2 separate regions of the Homo sapiens genome follow, and region 2 is linked to region 1. The links are contacts of gene promoters, found by promoter capture Hi-C in blood cells and fetal thymus (Javierre and others, 2016). All regions are on one chromosome and are shown on one strand. The core of a region is centred on a gene start or on the middle of the fragment in contact, and the rest is flanking DNA. Distances in the headings are between cores, read along the strand shown.

The links. The method cuts DNA at HindIII sites, captures the fragments that hold promoters and counts their contacts. A CHiCAGO score of 5 or more calls a contact.
Region 2: a contact is called between a fragment that was not itself captured here and the fragment with the promoter of ANKRD31 in region 1, in 4 of 17 cell types (total B cells, endothelial precursors, naive B cells and 1 more). The highest score is 8.9, in total B cells.

What each region holds. Positions count from the first base shown.
Region 1 is chr5:75,235,094-75,238,375 of GRCh38, forward strand. ANKRD31 (ankyrin repeat domain 31) reads right to left here and starts at 1,785. Exons shown (of 26, transcript NM_001372053.1): 1 at 1,490-1,785. The coding sequence starts at 1,593. LOC124901006 (a long non-coding RNA gene) reads left to right here and starts at 1,945. Exons shown (of 2, transcript XR_007058823.1): 1 at 1,945-2,273. RefSeq lists an enhancer at 1,506-1,675 and a silencer at 1,726-2,025. The HindIII fragment of the contact is 5,895 bases long and covers 1-3,282 here.
Region 2 is chr5:76,253,996-76,257,277 of GRCh38, forward strand. The region is part of intron 4 of SV2C (synaptic vesicle glycoprotein 2C); the gene reads left to right. Among named protein-coding and RNA genes, the nearest start is that of SV2C-AS2, 56 kb to the right of the region's middle. The HindIII fragment of the contact is 1,926 bases long and covers 656-2,581 here.

The sequences.
Region 1 (3,282 bases), core at 535-3,034:
ATTTTATATCAGAAAATATTTTAATATCCTATAGGTCATTACCTCCTTATTGTTCTTATTTTTCAGACTTTTCCTAATTGCTCTTATTTATTTTACGATATAAACTTTGGAATCAGTTGTCTAGTTCAACAGAAAGTCTTGCTGGTACTTTTTTTTTTTTTTTTTTTTTTGAGATAGAGTCTCACTCTGTCGCCCAGGCTGGAGTGCAGTGGAGTCATTTTGGCTCATAGCAACCTCTGCCTGTTTCTCATTACAACCAAAAACTCCGAATGAATATTTTTTAAAAACTACTCGAGAACCTTGAAAAGTAAACAATAGCAGGTAGATTGGGGACTGAAGTTGAAATCTTAATAACAACCCATTTATTGACGAGTTTCAGTTTGTTTTCGGTTTTTTGGTTCTTTTTTGTCTTTCAGCTTTGAACCATCCAGTGGGCACAGACAGTAAACCTATTTTTATCCAGAAGACCAAGGAAAATGACCCCTGCATGCCAGAAGGTATAGGACAAAGCCCAGGGCTTTATGTTGCTTTCTCTCTCACCTCCCAGCCCTGCCCCAAGGCTGGCCCTAGCCTCAGAGCAGACACCAACCATGGCAACTGGGGAACATAAAACTCAAGAGAAAGTGTCTACCAGAGGAACTGGGAAAAGGGATCGGTATTGCCTGAAAAGTGTGGACAGAATCCCCCTTTTTTCTCTCTTTTCTTAACTCTGTGCTAAAGGCTGTCCCCCTTGTAAGGAACTGCTGTATAGTGAAAAGGCTAACACTCAAAGAAACCTGTCTTTCTGATCATATGAACTGGCAAGTGGGTATGATGAGGAAAGGGGGCAGGAGAATCCTGGAGAAGAGAGAGAGGGAAAGGAGAATGACCTAATTCTGTGTACGATCCAACTTAAGTCCCAGACACAGCCCTGAGCACATATGAAGCAGACCTAGTGGCCTCATCCCTGCCCTCTTTTCCCTGTGTCTAGCACAGAGAATATGTTAGAGAAAGGTTTCGATAACCTGAAATACCGACTTTTTTGGATTCGTATAAAACTATTCGTTTCCAGTTTGGCAGGGACCAGTTTCCCCATCACACATTCTTTTCTTGAGAGAAACTGTTACCCATTTTCCTAGAACTGAGCTACGAGTCTCTTGAAGCAAAATGAAGTCTCCTGAAACAAAATGCAGTTAAGTTCAGACCCAAGATCTTTTTTGCTTGTGCAAAAAGACTTAAAGCCCCCAAAAGGAAAGCCTTTTGAAAAATGCTATAAAGCCACCTAGTACAAACCTCATTTTATCCCTAGCTGGTTGGGGGTAGGTGGGAACAGACTGTGTTTGCTTATTTACAAGCTCTCAGCTCAGGCACGGCTGCCCCACAAGGCTCTGATCCTGCCCACAAGCACATGTTCTGGTCACGATCTCCACTCAAAACTCTGACCCCCTCAGAGGGCACCTGGGCCGCCCTGGCGCGAGGGTTCAGGCACTGTGGCCCTAATGATGGTCACCTTCTCCAGGGCAGCTCCTTTTCTTCCAGGTCGCTCTCCGTCACTGAACCCTCTATCACAGTTTCATCACTGTCCCAGTCTGGGGCCTGGACGCCTTCCTCCATCTTTGCCTCACATTCAAAGTCTTTTTTACCCTCCTCTAACTCCCTCTTGCCCGCAAACAAAAAAACGCTTTGAGGGCCAGGGGAAATTGTGAATTAAAAATAAAAATAATATAATCGCAGCAGGAGCCGGGACTTGTCGCAGGGCTGCTGAGGAGGACGCAGGCGGCCGCGAGCGCGGCGGGGTAGCAGTCTGCGAGGCGGCCCGCGGGTCCCGCCGCTCGTCGCAGACAGGGGGCAGCCGCTCGCCACACGACGGAGCCCTGCGCAGCGCTCGGCCCCGCCCCCAGCTCCCGTGGCCGGAAGTGGGAGGCCGCGCGCGCGCGCGCAGGCCTACTCTGGGCGTGGCCTGCCGCTGCGTGTTTTTTTCACGGTTTCTCATTCTCGGTCGCTAGGCTTTGAGGGTGCTGGGGTTGCTGCTGCAGAGACCAGAAAGGCAGGCGTGGCGCACCCAGAACTCAGACCGAGCCTGCTTAACACCCTTGGCCGGGAGGGTGACCTGCCATGCACCTGATGCTTGTGAGCCCCAGATACGGGAAGAGCTGTCAGCTCCTGCCCGCCCCAGCAGCCCTGGCATTCTGGAGCCAGAATGCGACCTTAGACCTAAAGAGAGTTTTTGCAGCCCACCAAGTGCTTCCTTTCCCTTTAATCCCTTGACAGCCTCTCCTCAAGTGTCCTCTGAGGTAGACAAAACAGATACGTTTATCAGAAGTTTTAGCTCATCAACTAATCTCAGTGATGTATTTTGCATTTTTTTTTTCTCTCAACAACGCTTTGGTTACCTGAAATACAGATTATGCAGGAAAGGCAGGATAAATGCTTTATTTTTTCCTCTTTTATCAATTTTTATAATAATAGTAATGCCTAGCAACCTCCAAAAGTAGTCAATTGCGTTTTAATGAAGTACTAGAATTTTATATATTTGATGTGTTTCAGTCTAGTTGAACATTTTTAATTCAAACTAATTCAAAACAAAGCCAAGTGAGCTTCCACTTGCCAAGTGAGAAGAAGATTCAAGAAAAGACCAAGTTGTTTTCCCATAGCAAGTGTTTAGTATTCACCTTGGAGTCTCCAGCATCTAGCACATATAAAGTCTAAGTTTTGTCATAAATGGATGGAGCTAGAGATTTCTGACTTCCCAATTCATTGCCCTTTTCACTATATGGAGTAGCTTTGCCATTATTATCATTATTATTATTTTGTGTTTTTACTATGTATATTCAAGCCACTGCTATTTAAAATGCTTGATTGGTGATTATCTTCTAAACTTAACTTGAGGCTGGGGGTGGTGGCTCTACCTGTAACCTCAATGCATTGGAGGCCGAGGCAGGAGGATTGCTTGAGACCAGAAGTTCAAGACCAGCCTGGGCAACATGGTGAGACCCCTATCTCTGCAAAAAATTTGTTTTTAATTAGCAGGGCATGGTAGCATGGGCCTGTAGTCCCAGCTACTCAGGTTGAGGCGGGAGGATCGCTTGAGCCCAGGAGTTTGAGGTTATAATGAGCTATGATTGAGCAAACGCACTCCAGCCTGAGCAACAGAGTCATACCATGTCTCAAAAAATAAAAAAATAAACTTACTTGAATAAGTAACTTACTTAAATAAAATTCCTCGCCTCAACTCTGTAAATTAGGCAGAGCAATAATAAATATGCAAAGAACTAGACCTCTTTTTTATTTTTTTTAACAGTA
Region 2 (3,282 bases), core at 369-2,868, 1.0 Mb after region 1:
ATTGTCTGGGTGCAGGAGCTCACACCTGTAATCCAAGCACTTTCAGAGGCCAAGGCAGGAGCATTGCTTGAGGCCAGGAGTTTGAGACCAGCCTGGGCAACATAGGGAGAAACCACCTCCCTGTCTCTATTATTAAATATATGTGTTATTATATATATATATATATGTGTGTGTGTGTATATATATGTGTGTGTGTATATATATATGTGTGTATATATATGTGTGTGTATATATATGTGTGTGTGTATATATATATATATATAGAGAGAGAGAGAGAGATATTAAAAATTTAAAAATAAATGTAATGCATCTACACATCCAGCCAGCCAATGTGGCATAATAACAGCATTATTTGCATCCCTACTTTTCCATCTATTCCTTGAGAGTGTCGGTGGAAGTGGTTCTGAGAGCCCCAGCTGGAGTGAGACAGAAGGCAAACATTACTCAAACCTCCATGTTTAGCTTTACAATGGTGTCACTCACTTGATCTCACTCTTTTAGCCCTTATGAACTGCCTATTTTCCATGGAAATTTCCAGGCATGGAAGGTAACATCTGACATAGATATGCCCAAACATTCAATGTGAAATAAATACACAGACTGCCTCTGATGTGTTCTGAACCATAATTCAGATTTCAAAAATCTTAATGAATGAAGCTTCTACTTTCCCCAAGACTGTCACTAAATCTTCTCATGGCTTAATTAAATACTAATAATTGTACTAAATCCAAAATGTTAATTATGTTTATCTCTGAGTGATGAAACTTGGAGTTATTTACTTCTTTTATTTTCTGTATTGCTTGCCACATAGACATGTATTATTATTGTAACCAAGAAACAATCACATTGCTATCTGAGGGTAGAAGAAAATGATCAAAAGCATCTGAGACAGGCATATTGGCTGGGGTCCACCCCTTTTCCTGGTACAAATGAGACTCTAAGTGTTGATTTATATTTATTTTTTATAAATCCTCTCTCCACCCCACCCCCAAATGGATTTTACTTTGTCTACATTTTTTAATACTCACTGTCAGGAAATACTCTGTTAACCTAAGATTTTGAGCTTTTCCCTATTATTCTGTCCTATGGAAAGAAGAACAGTTATTCATATAATATTAATGATCACTCTTAATATCATTAAAAAGCTCTGTGGATCTCTCCAGTAATTTCTAATACATCAAGGTAGCCAAAGATTGTTTTGCAGATAAATTTATTTTCCTGCCAGGGATTTTTAAAACCATAAAGCATTATCAAAATCATAAAGTATATGTTTCTAGCTCACTCTTTTGAATCTGTCTGTTTTCCCAGACTGGAATTCACAAACGCATTCTGGTTATAATGATAGCACGTGGTTTGGAGACAGGATCAGCCGGTCTGGAGACCATCTTCCCATGTCACCCAAGCCTCCCATGCAGGGACCCTGTCTTCCTCCACCCCAGAATGTCCATGGTTGTCCCTTTCCTTTGTCCCTGGTTCTAGAGTCCTTTTCTCACTAGTCCTTCAGGAATGTATCACATTTCCTTCTTAACTGTGGCCCTAGAGTGGTCCTTTGGCCCCACTGTCCTAGCTTGGATCTCTGTCTGTCTAGCCAGGCATCCCTTTGCTCTATTAGATTTTCCCTACCAAATCCCAGTCCGTGGGTTGCCATCAAGTAACCCTTACATGTCAGCACCGTGCCTGTGAAAGCCAAGCCCCTCACCTGGTGAAATCGTTATCAGAGTGGTCACGCCTGGCCACCTTATGCGCCCCCCTCACCCCTCAGGTTCTGCTGAGCCACTGGGCCACTGGAGGAGGGACTGCCTCACCTGAGACTCTCATCTCCGCAGCCACCTCCCACCAAATGCCCAGTTCTTCCTGCCTCTTCCTTCAACTTGGCTCCCATCTCAGCCCTTCTGGGGGAAGAGGGCTCAGATTCTTACAATCTCCATAGAAAGGAAATACAGTGTCAGGCCAGTTTGCCTGATGCCTTTTTAAAAATCAATAAAGGGGACAGAATGCAAAATATGTGCTAGGTTGTTTTTATGAAATGCAAGGCAAAAAATGCCCCATTAAACATTTCTTCTCTGCAGCCCTTGCTCTCAAGGGCACATGCTTGACCCTTGGGTTCTTAAGACTTTCACCAAGGCCACTTTGTGCTTTGCCTGCTCTGCCTGAGTCTCTGGCCCTCAGAGCTAGAGGGTGGGGCTGGCCTTCCAGTCTGTATCTGTCCCCTGGGGGAGTACCTTTCCAGGCTGAATTTAAGAATGCAGCAATTGACTTAGAATGCAGACTCATTGAGTGAATGCGAGCCCTGGAGGAAAGAAAAATCACTGTCACTTCTGTGGCCCCCAGGTTTGACACTTTCAGGGCAACCCCAGAGTCTGAATTGCTTGGAACATCCACTCACGCATGCAAGTGAAAGTCATCAGGGAAGAGGCTTTTAATAGCGCAGCGTCTGTGTGTCTCTTGTGAACCCAGGGTGCCCTCAAGTGTTGGCTAGGGTTAATCACAAGCCGCTGTTTCTGAGAACACCCTAGAATGAAGCAACCCTTAAACGTTTTAGCTTTGTGACTTGTGTCCATCACTCTTAATTTTCTGCAGAAGCTTTTTCCTGCCTTTGTTACTTCTGTAAATTCAGTCTATCAGAGGGCTTATGTGGTACTTTTAAAAACTCACTTTGATTTGCCTTTGTGCAAATTGAGCTCTGAAAGAGAGCAGTTTCCAGGGAAATTCATCTCCCAGCAAGAATCCTGCCTGCTACCAAATCATCTTTTAATCTGCCCCCCGCTTTAAAATGTCATTATATTTTCCTTATACAGACCTTCATAAAACTTACAAACACTGTCTAGTTTACATCTTCATTTTGCTCTCACAAGGCCAAAAAACTTGTTAAACAGACTTAATGAACGAGTTCCTCTTGATCGGGGTTGTAAGTTTCTAAAATTGCATTTGAACTTCTACCTGCCTCTAGCTGAATGAAAATTGCCTCCAGACATCTGAAGTCTTTTTCTTCCTTTCATTTTGCTTAATCTACCTCTGTATCAAAGCACATTTCCATTTTGTTTAGGCCAGTTGTCAGACTCTAGGCATTTGCAGATTTTAGAAACCTGCACAGGTGTTCTGATGTGCCGTAAACTTCCAGAGCCACTGAATTCAGCAAAGAAATTCCTTGATGTTCCTACTTATTAATCTTATTAATTAACATATATCTTATATATTAATCTTTATACTTATTGTTGTCACTGGGGCTAAATAGTCTCTATAGCTCGTGGTGGGGGGCTGTAGTGTATGTGTGTGTGTGTG